Regions from separate parts of the Homo sapiens genome. Here all the other regions are linked to region 1. The links are contacts of gene promoters, found by promoter capture Hi-C in blood cells and fetal thymus (Javierre and others, 2016). All regions are on one chromosome and are shown on one strand. The core of a region is centred on a gene start or on the middle of the fragment in contact, and the rest is flanking DNA. Distances in the headings are between cores, read along the strand shown. Region 1 holds the start of SIRT3 (sirtuin 3). Region 2 overlaps PTDSS2 (phosphatidylserine synthase 2). Region 3 overlaps ANO9 (anoctamin 9). Region 4 has its middle 6.7 kb from the start of PKP3.

The links. Contacts are between HindIII fragments. The CHiCAGO score rates a contact against its expected background, and 5 or more counts as called.
Region 2: a contact is called between a fragment that was not itself captured here and the fragment with the promoter of SIRT3 in region 1, in 8 of 17 cell types (naive CD8 T cells, naive CD4 T cells, total CD4 T cells and 5 more). The highest score is 8.1, in naive CD8 T cells.
Region 3: a contact is called between a fragment that was not itself captured here and the fragment with the promoter of SIRT3 in region 1, in 1 of 17 cell types (naive CD8 T cells). The highest score is 5.0, in naive CD8 T cells.
Region 4: a fragment that was not itself captured here is called in contact with the fragment with the promoter of SIRT3 in region 1 in 3 of 17 cell types (naive CD8 T cells, naive B cells and total CD8 T cells); the score reaches 5.6 in naive CD8 T cells.

The regions. Positions count from the first base shown.
Region 1 is chr11:234,495-238,133 of GRCh38, reverse strand. SIRT3 (sirtuin 3) reads left to right here and starts at 1,792. Exons shown (of 7, transcript NM_012239.6): 1 at 1,792-2,086. The coding sequence starts at 1,806. It overlaps PSMD13 (proteasome 26S subunit, non-ATPase 13), which reads right to left and starts at 1,158. Exons shown (of 13, transcript NM_002817.4): 1 at 990-1,158. The coding sequence starts at 1,084. RefSeq lists enhancers at 907-1,146, 1,307-1,496 and a silencer at 1,647-1,726. The HindIII fragment of the contact is 9,250 bases long and covers 1-3,639 here.
Region 2 is chr11:454,043-457,681 of GRCh38, reverse strand. The region is part of intron 1 of PTDSS2 (phosphatidylserine synthase 2); the gene reads right to left. Among named protein-coding and RNA genes, the nearest start is that of PTDSS2, 5.6 kb to the right of the region's middle. RefSeq lists an enhancer at 2,034-2,755. The HindIII fragment of the contact is 6,661 bases long and covers 1-3,639 here.
Region 3 is chr11:437,039-440,677 of GRCh38, reverse strand. The region is part of intron 1 of ANO9 (anoctamin 9); the gene reads left to right. LOC105376506 (a long non-coding RNA gene) reads right to left here. Exons shown (of 5, transcript XR_007062542.1): 3 at 1,927-3,579; 4 at 698-779; 5 at 5-193. It also overlaps the pseudogene RN7SL838P. Among named protein-coding and RNA genes, the nearest start is that of ANO9, 3.2 kb to the left of the region's middle. The HindIII fragment of the contact is 350 bases long and covers 1,378-1,727 here.
Region 4 is chr11:385,673-389,311 of GRCh38, reverse strand. No RefSeq gene overlaps it. Among named protein-coding and RNA genes, the nearest start is that of PKP3, 6.7 kb to the left of the region's middle. The HindIII fragment of the contact is 235 bases long and covers 1,436-1,670 here.

The DNA.
Region 1 (3,639 bases), core at 543-3,042:
GGGACAGTGACATAGCGCTTCATCCAAAACCCAAAGGCTAATATTTAATAACGCAGATAAAATGCTTTGAAAATTACCAAGTGCTATCCAACACAAACCATTATTTGCCAAACATTAATTTGCTCTCAAAAACTGCTAATAGCAGAAGGCTGCTGAATGCTAAACATCATCAAAACATGTATGGAACATCTATGTGAAAGGTATTATATTAAATGCTAGGGTTAACAGGGAGGTTACTACAGGAGATGTATTTTCTATGGAATAGCTCCAGCCCAATGCCAGCAATTTATTCTACTCATATTAAAAGGAGGTTAGTGCTTAGCAAGAATTTAATTGCTCTGCAATTCATCCTGTTTCTAAACAAACCTAAACTTTAAGATCTTTCTAGGGGCAGAAAGCCCATGAGAAATACAATGGAAGGTAAAGACAATGGGACGGCGGAAGTGGTTGCACCCCGTGCAACCAGCTGCAGAATGAATAGGGAAAACAGCAAAGCTGTACTAGCCTCTGGTTTATCAACTCCAGACCATGAGAAAGATAACTGTAGATACAGTTACACTATGACAAGGCTAAGCACGAATCACCAACATGTTTCCCAAAGTGGGTGGTGGCCCTGAAAGTGTGTTTGCTTGTTAGATGGAATCAAGAGCTAAAATCAAAGGCTACTCCTGAACCGTTTTAGTAAGACCCGAGGTAGGAGTTCAGAAGCCTCAGTCTCAGTCCCCCGTTAAGGAAGCAGTGAATCTCAGACCGAAACATCCTGGCTACAGCTCTTGGCCCTCGTGGTCTGTCATCCCTCTTATTCCTCGACCCTGCCACTCAAGGTTCCTCAGCAAACCTTGCCGGCACAGCCGGTCGCTACACGTCCCCGTTTCCCCCCAACTTGGGTCTGGGCGCCCTCAGCCCATCAAGGGTCCGCTCCTCCGCCCGCCTGCCCCCTCCGTCTCCCTCTATCGCCGGGGCCCAGGGCCCGTCTGCTCGGCGCTCACTTCTTCGTGTAGAGCTCCTCCAGACGGTGCCACACAGCGGGCTGCCCGGGCCCGGAGTTCTGGCTCTGCTGTAGGAAGCCCGGTACGTCCTTCATGACAGCAGGAAGACCCCCGGCACAGAAGAACAACCGGGATGTCAGCACCGCGGGGATGGCTGCCGGAAATGCTCACTCACTTCCGGCGCCGAGCGGCGCGGGGCAGGCTGGGAGCGCCGTAGCAGGCCGGGGGCGGGCCCCGCTGGTTGCTCGGTTACAGCGCGTCTCTGCGCTCCGGACAAAACTCTCCGGCGTTTGCAGCCCACTTCCCGCGCACTTGGCTGTGCCATTGAGGCGTCAAAGAGTGTGGGCGCCTGTGGTCGAACCCGCTACGGACTAGCTTTGTGGTGTCAGCCTTTGTGACCCGGAATTGCTCCTGTCAAATGAGGATCTTCCCAGTAGTGTTTTGCGAGGATTAGGTGTAAATATAATGCCTGACCATAGTAAAAGCGCTCAGAAAGTATTAACTATCACCGCCATCCGGGTTGAAAAAGGTGTGAGCGCAGGGTACAGAAATGCTGGCTCCAGGTTTGACCTCCGGGGCGAGAGATGAGACACCAGACTAGGGAACTTCCTCTACTCGCCTCTACGTCTACCTGGGCGCGCCGGAGGCGTCGGCAAGGAGGCGGGGGCGGGGCGCGGAGGCGGGACCGGGGCGCCGGGGGCGGGGGCGGTAGGCGGAGGCGGGGCTGGGGCGCCGGGGGCGGGGGTGGGAGGCGGAGGCGGGGCCGGGGCGCCGGGGGCGGGGCGAGTCCGGAGGACTCCTTGGACTGCGCGGAACATGGCGTTCTGGGGTTGGCGCGCCGCGGCAGCCCTCCGGCTGTGGGGCCGGGTAGTTGAACGGGTCGAGGCCGGGGGAGGCGTGGGGCCGTTTCAGGCCTGCGGCTGTCGGCTGGTGCTTGGCGGCAGGGACGATGTGAGTGCGGGGCTGAGAGGCAGCCATGGGGCCCGCGGTGAGCCCTTGGACCCGGCGCGCCCCTTGCAGAGGCCTCCCAGACCCGAGGTGCCCAGGGCATTCCGGAGGCAGCCGAGGGCAGCAGCTCCCAGTTTCTTCTTTTCGAGGTATTTTGGGCAAGGACAAGCACTTCTTGCGTGTTCGTTGTCGACACCTCGCCCACTCTTTCTCACCTTGCCGTGTTTCCTTTGCGGCATGTCTGGGAGTTTACGTGCGTTCCAACACCGGGGCCTCCGTCTTTATGCTGATCTGTGGACGTCACTTATGGGGGTTTTGTCGTTTATTTCACCATTCCCTCATTGAAATACGTTCTAACCTTTAGTTATTGTGCATCATGCTGTGGTGAATAACCTTGTTGGCACCTCACTGTTTGCATAAATTCCTAGTACTGGGATTGCTAGGTCCAAAAGTATATGCATTTAACGCTTTAATGATCCCTCATAAATGTTGTGCGGTTAATACTCCCACTGGCATGTGATCGTACCCGTCTCCATAGTAATTGCATCTAAGAACTGAGGCTACATAGGAAAAAATCTTAAGGTCCATGGTTGTTAGGTATCAGATGCCCTATAATGGATGAATATTTAAGTAAATAATGGCACATTGACTTGCTGTCTGACACAACTGCTGAAAATGTTGGTGAAAAGTGAGTCTCGAAGTGGTAGCTCACACTTGTAATACCAGCACTTTCGGAGGCTGAGACGGGGATCGCTCGAGGCCAGGAGTTCAAGAGCAGCCTGGGCAACATAACGAGACCCCCATCTCTACCAAAAATTTAAAAATTAGCCGGGCATGGTGGCGCAAGCCTGTTGTCCCAGTTACTCCTGAGACTAAGGCAAGAGGATCCCTTGAGTCCAGGAGTTCAAGGCTGCAGTGAGCTATGATTGAGCCACTGCACTCCAGCCTGGGTGACAGAGCAAGACTCTTATCTACCTGTGGGAAAAAAAAAAGAAAAAAGTTTAATAGATCCTGAAGAGTTGGCCGGGCGCGGTAGCTCACGCCTGTAATCCCAGCACTTTGGGAGGATGAGACGGGTGGATAACGAGGTCAGGAGTTCGAGACCAGCTGGGCCAACATGGTGAAACCCCATTTCTACTGAAATTACAAAAATTAGCCGGGCGTGGTGGCGGGCGCCTGTAATCCTAGCTACTCAGGAGGCGGAGGCAGGAGAATCACTTGAACCCGGAAGGCAGAGGTTGCAGTGAGCCGAGATGGCACCATTGCACTCCAGCCCGGGCGAAAGAGCAAAAACTCCGTCTCAAAAAAAAACAAAGATCCCGAAGAGTCAGTCGTTCATCCAAGAAGCCCTGACTGAGCTCTTATTCTGTGCCAGACTCTGTTCTAGGTGCTATGGATGGAGCAGGGACCAGGACCTACAAACACGTGGAGCGCATTCTAATATCTGTGATACTCTGCAAAACTGTTAAAACAAATCCTTGCGGCCGGGCGCGGTGGCTCACGCCTGTAATTCCAGCACTTTGGAAGGCCGAGACGGGCGGATCACGAGGTCAGGAGATCGAGACCATCCTGGCTAACACAGTGAAACCCCGTCTTTACTAAAAATACAAGGAAATTAGCCAGGCGTGGTGGCGGGTGCCTGTAGTCCCAGCTACTCGGGAGGCTGAGGCAGGAGAATGGCGTGAACCTGGGAGGCGGAGCT
Region 2 (3,639 bases), core at 808-3,307, 220 kb before region 1:
TATAATAACCTAAAACGGGAAACAAACCAAAACTCTATCAGTGGAGGAAACACTGTGGTCCCTCCGACCAGCGGAGCATGGCTCAGCACTCAGAGGAATGTGCTGCTGGCAACGACCTCAACGTGGATAGATCTCAAAGACACGCCCCTTGGGAGGCCCAGGCAGGAGGACTGTTTTGGGCCAGGAGCTCAAGACCAGCCGGGGCAACATCATGAACATCGTGAGATCCCGTCTCAAAAGATAAAAAAAGAAAAAGAAAAACACGCTACAGACGCCAGGCACAAAAGAAACCTCCCATCTGCTGTCACCCACACACGACTCAAGGAAATGAGTTTGCATCCACGAAAAGCAGACTGGAGCGGAGACACGGGCCTTCCGGATGATGGAATGTTCTGGTGTGAGCGTGGTTGTGGCGGTGCATGGGCGTGTCACCTGCACGTGGGTGCTGCACTGAACGCACCCACACCTGGACTTAGCCGATTTCATGAAGAGCCAGGGTGGAGCTGCAGGACTGCAGGTGGAGGCTCCAGGCTGGAACTTTCTGTATTTTTTGTGCAGATGGGGTCTTGCCATGTGGGTCAGGTTGGATTTTTTTGTATTTTTTGTAGAGACGGGGTCTTGCCATGTTTTCCAGGCTGGTCTCAAACTCATGAACTCAAGGGATCTGCCCACCTTGGCCTCCCAAAGTGTTGGGATTACAGGCATGAAAGTGAATTCTTCTGCCATATTTTACAATACTAGGCATTTAAGACAACCAGAGGTAAATAAAAGTTTCATTGTGACTATCAACCACCTTTTTCTTTAGATACATTTGCATTTGAGTCCTAAGCCATGAGGAAACCGCAGGGAACCTCAGCCTTCCTGCTGAGCTCCACACCGTGGGGCCCTTCAGTACTGAGAGACCTGCCCACAATCACAGCAGAGAACCCACGTCAGAAGGCCCTCTTAGGCCCCCATTCCTAAGGGTGCCTGGATTCGGCGACCCAGAAACTCACCCTCTGCTGAACACTACACTTACAGAACGTGTCCTCCTGGAGACAGCCCTTGAGGGGAAACGGGCTGGGCTCAGCTGGGGCCCAGGAGTCCCCTTGTCCCTGGCCTGCCCCTCCATGAGGCCCACCCTTTCCTCCATACAGGTGACATCAGATTTCGGTGAGGAGAGTAAGATGACCCCGGTTAGGATAAGAAGAGTCAGGAGTGTTTGGGGGCAGGTACCGTGGCTCACACCTGTAATTCCAGAGCTTTGGGAGGCTGAGGCAGGAGGATCACTTGAGCCCAGGAGTTGGAGACCAGCTCGGGAAACATAGTGAGACCCTATTTCTACCAAAAAAAAAAAAAAATTAACTGGATGTGGTGGCGCATGTCTGGTCCCAGCTACTTGGGAAGAGGGAGGGTGAGGGGAGATTACTTCGGCCCAGGAGTCGGGGACCGCAGTAAGCTGAGATCACATCCCTGCACTCCAGCCTGGGTGACAGAGTGAGATTCTGTCTCAAAAAAAAAAAAAAAAAAAAGAATGAAAGAAAACAGAAAGAAAGAAAAACCAAAACAACAAGCAGGTTTAGATCGCAAAGCCAACGACGTGATGACAGCCAGGAGCGCGGTGGCTCTGGCTGTGTCCGTGCCCCGGGCCAGGGCACCTTCATGCCGTGTGCGTGGTGCCCGCAGGCAAGTCAGGGCCGGTAAGTGACACTGTGAAGGTCATGCAGCAAGGCGGGGGGTGGGGCCCGGAGCCTCCTGGACACTGGGCCATCACAGCCATTCCCTGAGCCCCCGCCCCAGCCACACCCGGGAGAAGACACAGCCTGCGTTCCTGAGCCTTCCTTCCAGTGGAGTGAGACCAATACAGGAGAGCTAAGAAACCCTACACGTTATAGAGAAAAACAAAAGAGGGATGGGAGTGGTTAGGGAGGTTAAAACAACTATTTTTGTTGCAAAGCCAGGTCCCAGTAAAACCACGCCAGGAGGGCTCGTGGCCTGGGAGGCATCTCCGGAGACCATAGCAAGAAGGGAGCGCGAGGAGCAAGCACTCTCGGGCTCAGCCTCCATCCCCAGCAGTTCTGAGAAACAGCAGGGACCTCTCCAAAGGGTGCACATGTCTGAAGTGACCTTTGGAGGAGCCAGGGACAGTCTCATCCTGGGGCTTCCTGACGAGGTCACCTTGTAGGAGGAACAAGGTCAAGGGGCTCCAGACACCCAGAACCCCGCCAAGGGCCCACAGCACAGACAGACAGGGTGTGGTGTGCACGGGAGCAGGACTCTGCCTGGCTGGAGTGCAGATGCCGGGACAGGAGCCTGCTGTGAGGGAGGCCTCCAGTGGGGAAGCTAACAGGGCCTCCACAGGACCCTGTCTTGGAACCACACGGCCACCCCACGTGAGGGGTTCTCACTCTGGGCAGTAATGTCTCTAAGAAAAGAGGGGTGAAGGAGCCCCAGCCTAAGGGAGGCTAACCGTGGAAGAGACAACAGCCCATCAACCTGCTCACATGCAGAATGGGAGACCCAGAAGCTAGATCAACGTGAGGACACCACTCAACCCTGTTCTGCAAGAGACCAGCAGGAAACCCCTCGTCATCTCCATGTGGGCTCAGGAAGAAGATGGAAACGACCAGGCCTCAGGGACACCCAGAATGCCACCACTCCACACACAGGCCCACTGGAGGAGGAGGCTGCACTCGGCCCCACCCTGACCCTCGGACGTGCCTGCAACCCAGTCAGCATCTCCCAGATACAGCACAGGCTCCCATTCACATGCAGAATCCCAGGAATAAACGCAAAGCTCAAGGGATGGGGTGAGCAGCCTGTGTCCCACCAGCACCAAGTTCCACAGCACACAAAGACAGGATCACACACTAACACAAGTTAAAATTGAAACTTGACTTCTTTTTTTCTTTTTGAGATGGAGTCTTGCTCTGTCACCCAGGCTGGAGGACACTGGCGCGATCTCTGCCTCCCAGGTTCAAGCGATTCTCCTGCCTCAGCCTCCCAAGCAGCTGGGATTACAGGCGCCCGCCACCACACCCAGCTAATTTTTGTATTTTTAGTAGAGACCGGGTTTCACCATATTGGCCAGGCTGGTCTTAAACTCCTGACCTCGTGATCCACCTGCCTCGGCCTCCCAAAGTGCTGGGATTACAGGCGTAAAACTTGACTCCTTTAATACGACTTTCCACGACAGAGACCTTCCTGTGGTTTCTAAAGTGGCCACCAACCCAACACTCACTCCTTGTGTAGCCCAGGGAAACGCTGATCATTGATCAACCCTAACCCAACACCATCTTTCCATTTCCCCAAAACACAGAGATTACCTGAAATATAAAGGTAACCCTTCGCCCCTTCAGGTAAATGTGCACACTGTCATTGAGGTGGCCACCGAGTGCCCAGCACCCTCCTGGCCCTGGGGAAGCAGAAATGGGAATGAAGAGGACCCAACAGGAAGGGAGGCAGAGGGTAAGGGACCCAGAGAAAGGGCACCAGGCACAGCAGCCCTGCAGGAGGACACATCTCAGAGCTGCTCAAATCCAACGCTCCTGGAAAGTAAGGTCCGTATTAGTGAGCTCCAGTCCTTGTCCTACACGCAGCACGACGTCTACACATCTTGGAAGTGACAGAGTGCCGCTCAAGATAGCATGAGACTCTCAA
Region 3 (3,639 bases), core at 303-2,802, 200 kb before region 1:
TGAGCCTGCGGTCCCAGCTACTCCGGAGGCTGAGGCAGGAGGGTTGCTCGAGCCTGGGAGTTCTGGGCTGTAGTGTGTTAGGCTGACTGGCTGTCCGCACATCAGTATGGTGACCTCCCAGGAGCAGGGGACCACCAAGTTGCCTAAGGAGGGGTGAACCGGTCCAGGTCGGAAACGGAGCAGGTCAAAACTCCTGTGGTGATCAAAAAGGACAGTTGCAGACATGGGGAGGACTTGCTAGTCCCAGCTCCAGGCTGGATCTGGGCGTGCCTTTCCTCTGCTCTAACCCCTTCCATGGCTCCCCACTGCCCCCTGCTGAAGTCCAAGCTCTCCATTTGGCCAAGAAGCCTAGCAGCCTCCCCTGATTGGCCTCTGCCAACCTCCAGCCTCCCCTTCTGGCAGCTCCCTTCTTGCCCTTTATGCTTCTGCAAAGCTGAAGTACCAAGGACTGAGTCCCTGGACTCAGTTTCCGTAGGTGCCGAGTGCTGAGTCACCAGGAGTAGTAGCTACCAAGTCCTCCTTGGAGGTGCTGAGTGCTGAGTCCCTGGGAGGTGCTGACTGCTGAGTCCCAGACACCAACTGCACCCTGATTCTCAGGGCGTGCCCACACATGTTCTTTCTCCCGGGAATGCTGCCCCCATTTTCTCACCTTTTGCCAACCTCTTGCCCTACAATGCCAAGCTCCATGCCTCCTCACCTGCCAAGTAGGCCCCCGCCCCTGCGTCCACGAACGCCACGCACTGCCTGGGAGGGCTGCACGCAGGTCGCTCCGTCAGTGTCTGGGGATGGACGGGCACACGGATGGGTGAACTGACAGATGACAGACTGGACAGCTGGAGGGGCCGGGGGGTGGGCAGAAGACTGGCTTCAGGAGCGCAGAGCCAGCTGGGGAGGGTTTGCTCAGAGGATGCGTGGGCTGGGCAGAGGCGAGACGCTGTGGCTCACAAGGTGGGCCTCTCCATGCTTGGGACTGCGGTGGGGCAGAAGGGGACCCTCTGTGGATGACGAAACTGTAAAGTTCTCAAGGGCCAGATCCCAGAGGGCTCAGGGCACCGGCCAAGAGGCTTGACGTGACCTCAGGAGGAGATGAGGCCCAAACACCTTCCCATGCACAGCTGGGGGGATGTGCGTCGTGGGACCCCCTGGCCAGGCCTGCTCCTTCTCATGCACAGCTGGGGGGATGTGCGTCATGGGACCCCCTGGCCAGGCCTCTCAGGAGTAGGGTGGGGTCATATCTGCACAACCATCTCCTCTGCCTGCCCCCAACCTGGAGGCTGGACTGGGAAGAGGATGGATGGGCAGGACCCCCAGCTCTGTCCTCACACTCCAGCCCTTGGGAGGGAGGGTCTCCTGCAGGCTACAGTGTCTCCAGAAGCTTCCTCACTGGGAACCAGGGGCTTGCCCACTGGACGCTGGCCTATGCCCACAATGGGGGTGCCAAGAGCCCCCCACAAACTCCCTGGGGCCCTGGAGTACTGGGTGTGTCACCTGTGAGGGCTGTGGGACAGGAAGGATGGGGGAGAACAGTGTGTGGTTCTGTCCACCTTCTTCCTGTGTCTGCACGTCGCTGAGGTGACCTGGGGGCTGGGGTGAGGACACCCTGTTGTACAGACGAGGAAACTGAGGCCTGGGGTGTTTCGGTGGCGTCAGAGCTAGGGCCTGGCCGGCTGTCCACCCAGAGCCGGCCTCCCTCTCTGGGTTTGCAGATGGCAAGGCTGGCTGAAGCTTCAGAGGCCCTCAGACTGAGTGTGTAGGGACAGCCCCTGTCCCTACCCTGGGAGCTGGAAGCCTGTGGGCCCATACATAGTTTCCCGGAGGTGGGGCCCATGGACTGGGGACATGGGGGTCCCAGACATCTCACTGTGGATAAACCGAACAGTCTGCATGGCTGGAAGTGGAGGTGACTTCAGGTGGTCCAGCCCTCACCTGTGAAGACCCCGAGGGTGGTGTGGAGAAGCCAGGCTCCCGTGGTCCGTAAACACTGGCCCTGGAGACGGATGGACAGATGGATGGCCTGGTCCTGTAGGCTGGTGGCTGTGGCCCGGGGGATGGGCCGGTGGGTGTGGCTCCGTAAACACTGGCCCTGGAGACGGATGGACAGATGGACGGCCCGGTCCTGGAGGCTGGTGGGCCCAGTGTTCTGCAGCAGAGTCTCGGAGCCTGAGGCCTGTCTGGCTGTGTGTGTTGGGGGGGCTACACCTGCCTGGCTGTGTGTGTCAGGGGGTGGCTACACCTGTCTGGCTGTGTGTGTCAGGGGGGCTACACCTATCTGGCTGTGTGAGTCGGGGGGGGGCTACACCTGTCTGGCTGTGTGTGTTGGGGGGACTCCACCTGTCTGGCTGTGTGTGTCGGCGGGGGCTACACCTGGCAGCCCTAGTGCTTCTGCCTTGTCCGAGGGAGCAGCTAAGGGCAGCCAGGGGCTGGCACGCCCCAGGTGTGCGTGTAGCTCTGCCCTGGGGGGAGGGCTCCCTGTCAGCCCACGTCAGTGATGGGGGCTTTGCACCCCATTCCCCAGGGGAGGCTGATCCTGCTGTTTGCAGAGGCGTGGGGTCATCACCCCAGTGCTGCACGGTGTCTTTGGTGGGGAGGGGGTTTCTGTGCCTCATTTCTGGGGTGAACGATGGCTTCCCACCCCCACCTTTGAGAATGTTCCCCAGGGACAGTCCCCTCTCCCAGGCTTCTCCGAAAGTCCTGCCTGGTCTGGGGTCCCTGCCTCGTCCCTTCCTTCTCAGGGGTCTGGGCTTATCCTGCCGGCTTTCAACTTTCGGCCCAGGCTGATGTGAGGGGGTCTCTAATTTCAGCCTCTGCCAGAGGAGCTGGGGTTCTGGGCAGAGGAGGGACCCTCATCCTGGGTCTGAAGCCAGGCATGTGAGGGGCCATTCTCCCATGAATCCCTCCAACACAACACTTCCCGGGCCCCTACGGAGGCAAGCTGCAGAGCTGGAGCCGTGATGCCCACGTCCCCCAGACCACCAGTCCCCCCCAGGGAGGCTGCCCTCTGCGCTGAGACAGAGGTGCCTCTCCTGCCTGGGCAGGTGCCACGCCCCTTCCTGCATATCTGTCGGAGGATGAAGGTTTCTCCTCTAACCCAGGACGGGGGAGAAGTTTCAGTGTGGCAGGCCACGCCTGAGTGCAGGTATCTGTCCGTGGGCTGTCGGGAAGGCCAAGGAGGGAGTCAGAGGAAGGGTTGATTGAGGCAGGAAGAACTACTGGTCTAGGATAGGACAGAAGGGCCAGGTGAGCCCCGTGGGCCAACTAGGGCAAGAACTTCCCCCCGCAGGGAGGCTGCAGTGTGGCACTGGGTGCTCAGATGGTGTCTACCTGAGCCCATCTCCCTGTGACCGGGGCGTCGGATGCCTTAGTGCAGTGCTCCCCAACCTTTTCAGCACCAGGGACCAGTTTCGCAGAAGACAATTTTCCCACAGCTGTGGGTGTGGTGGGATGGTTTTGGGATGAAATCGTCTCACCTCAGATCATCAGGCATTAGATTCTCATAAGGAGCAGCCGAGATCCCTGCATGCGCAGTGCACAATGGGGTTCTTCCTCCTCCTCCTGTGAGGATCTAATGCCGCCGCTGATCTGATGGGACATGGAGCCCAGGTGGGAACATTCACCCCCAGCTCACCCCCCACGCACCCC
Region 4 (3,639 bases), core at 304-2,803, 150 kb before region 1:
ACTGATGTATGCTGCCTTTCCTCTCTACTTCGGCTACCTAAGAGGGAAGGGTCACCGTAAGGTGACTTGCTTCACCTTATCACTTAGAAGATTCACCCTCCTTATCCTGCCCCCTTGTCTTGTATGCAATAAATATCAGCGCGCCCAGCCGTTCAGGGCACTACTGGTCTCCGCGTCTTGATGGTAGTGGTCCCCCAGGCCCAGCTGCTTTCTCTTTATCTCTTTGTCTTGTGCCTTTATTTATTACAATCTCTGGTCTCCGCACATGGGGAGAACACCCACTAAGCCCCGTAGGGCTGGACCCTACAGTCCCCAAGGCAAACTGGACAGGGTCAAGGTGGCCTCCCTGCACTGTCTGGAAAGCCCCTCCTGAAGGACCCTCCTCCCTGCACTGTCTGGAAAGCCCCTCCTGAAGGACCCTCCTCCCAGGACTGTCTGGAAAGCCTCCTGAAGGACCCTCCTCCCTGCACTGTGTGGAAACCCTCCTGAAGGACCCTCCTCCCTGCACTGTGTGGAAACCCTCCTGAAGGACCCTCCTCCCTGCACTGTGTGGAAACCCTCATGAAGGACCCTCCTCCCTGCACTGTCTGGAAACCCTCCTGTGGGGCCCTAGCCCAACACATTTGCAGCAGTCACAGGTGTATCTAGGGATCCTGGGGTCCATGAGCCCACAGGGCAGCTGTTAAGAGCCTTTGCCTTCTTCCTATATCTCCTCTCTCTTTTCTGGACTTCCTCCCGGTTCCCACTGGAAAAAACTGAGGTGGCCCCTCCCAGGATGCCCCCAAAGTACCATCTGGTCCCACAGCCCATTCCCGCATCCTCCTTCTGACATCAGGGGCCGCCTGTGCAATGAACTCATCTCCTCATCCCCTAGGACCAGCCGTTCATTGACTGAGTCAGGAGACAGAGAGGCACACTTCACCAAGGCCCCTGCCATCCCCCAGGAAGGCAGTGGGGCCAATCCCTGCTCTACCATGGACAGCCTGGTGCAATCAAGAGGCCCAGCCCCTTTCTCTCATAAGCCCTCCAGCCAAGTGCAATGAGAAGCCCAGTCCCATTCCCTCACAAGCCCTCCAGTATCACATCTGAAAGTGTTTCATCCTCCATTCTCCCATTTTATCACTGGGGTCCCATTTAGGGTCCTCCAATGGTACTGCTATTCATCCAATTGGATAAAGCTTCTCTTCTTCCCTGGCCCTATATAAGATATACAGCTCATCCCCCAAATTCTCTGCCGCTTGCGGGGTGGCCTGCTTTTCAGCAGTCAGGGTTTGATTCAGAAGTAACATGATATCCTTCCAGGAGAGCTCAAATACTTGGGTTAAGTTCTGGAAAGCCTCCATGTATCTGTCAGGGCCATCTGAAAACTTGCCAAGATCCCCCTTAATTTGACTCAGAATGGCCTAAAATGAGGATTTCTAGGCTGGGGAAAGCTTGAGAGAGAACCTGAGTAGGGAGGAGTGAAGGGTTTGATTCCTCCACTGGAGGTGCCTCTGGGGTTTGCTTCTCTATTTCCCTGGGATTGCCTCTTGCAGCCTCTCCTGAGATGGCCACCAGGAGGGCTGGATCAATCCTACAGTAGAGGCAAAGGTCCAAGTTACCCTGCAAGGCAAAGAAAGCCTGCACACACGAGGCCTGGGATCACTGGCCCTCACATTTACAGAAAAGCTTCCTCCCAAGACCATGCTTCCCTTCTGTGTCTTACACTTACAGAAAAGCTTCCTTCCTGAGACCATGCTTCTCTTCTGGGTCTCACGTTTACAGAAAAGCTTCCTTCCTGAGACCATGCTTCTTTTCTGGGTCTCAAGGTGCTTGGCACCAAGTTGGCGGCCAAGGAAATAACAAGAACATTTTTGCCACAAATTTACATACAGATACCAAGGCACACTTTACTTCGTCTGTGCTATTCTTAACCTTCCATTTTATAGTTTTGATGACTCAGTCAAATGCTCATTCTACCCAGTAATATTTCTGGTTTGCAACAACATCCTTAACATTTAACATTGTACATAAAGAAGAGATAGGAACCATGACAGCCACAAAAGAAAGACAGAAAAGAATGATAGGAAAGAGTGGAGGTCTTTGTGCCAACACCCTCATGGGAGGCTGGGGACTGGAGTCAGTCCAGGGGCCTTTGGATAACTCCAAGGGGTAACCTCAGCCAAATACCCCCAGTTGCTCTAGGACCTCCTTCTGGTCCCACGTGACAGCTAGACCTCCATGAAGGAAAACTGGGTTGGAACAAAGCCAACATTCCCAATACCTGAGGGTGATGGGGGCTTGACAGTGTCCTCCCCAGCAAGCCTGGCCTCCATGTGTTGAGTCTGGTGCTTGGAGACTAGTCGTCACTTTTAACTAATTGACAGAGGCCTGGTATTTTTCTTTCATTTTAGCTGTTGAGTTTAAGGACCACGAAGAAAGGACAGAAAGAGAAGATCCACTTTTACTTACCCTTGTGCAGATCCCAGACGAGCCCCCAAACATGTTGTGGGATATTTGGGGTGTTGCTTTTCTGGCCAGAAACCTCTGTGGCCAGGAGCACCTTTGCCTGAGTTCTTGTCCTGTGTCCAGGAAGAATGAGGTACACAGACAAGTGGAGGGTGAGCAAGACGAAGAGGAGCTTTATTAAGTGTCAGAACGGCTCAGAGGCTCTCAGCAGAGAGGAGGCTGGGAGTGAGTGGCTCCTCTCTGCAGGAAGGTCGTCCCAACGAGTGTTCAGCTCTCAGCAGAGAGGGCAGCTCCTCTCTGCAGTTGGTCGACCCAATGCCTGCAGCTATCAGCAGAGAGGGTAACTCCTCTCTGCAGTTGGTTGACCCAAGGCCTGCAATGCTCAGCAAAGAGGAGGCCCTAGTGAGGGTAGCTCCTTTCTGCAGCTGGTCATCCCGTCGTCTCTCTGTCCTCTTCTCCACTCTGGCTGAACCCAGGGCTTTTATGGGCCTCAGAGGGGAGGAAATTCATGCCAACTGGTGCATGGGCAGCCATGGGTGGGCCCGGAAAAGGCACCACAAGTCCCCACTGTGGTCCTCAGGACTGTCAGCCTGGCCCCCAGCCTTCAGGCCCACCCTGGCTTGAAGGTGGAGCCTCACCAGGGACCTGCCCATTCCCTCCCAGGAGCCTGTCTGCCTCCCACTGCCGCCCATGGTGCCCAGGCCGCTCGTGCCAAGGGGTGCCCACAGGCCAGCACTGAGCTGCCCCCAGCTCCATCTTGGCCTCCCTCCCACACTCATTGGTGCCCAAAGTCTGGAGGGGCTGAGGTGGCAGGGGACTGGCATCTCGGCACTGCTCTGAGGGTGCACACCCGGCTGGGCTGCAACAACACCCGGGCTTGGCCCCGACCCCACTCCAAGATCAGAGTGGGCGCCAGGAGCAGGGACACCCCCAAGCCTGTGGTGTTAGGGGGTCCTCCCTGGCCCCCAAGACCACCAGGAGGCCTGGGTCCACACAGCAGCAACCTGGCTGGCTGCAGCTGCCCCCGTGGTGCTCCCGCCCTGCCAACCCTGCACAAATAAACCCACTGCTCCCAGGGCTGGTTCCACGAGACCCGGCTGTGCCTTCAGCTGGGTGCTCACGGGCTCCCGGGACACGGCAGGAAGCGAGGTTGAGGTGGCTGTGGGGGTTCCAGGCCTGGGAGTGGGTCTT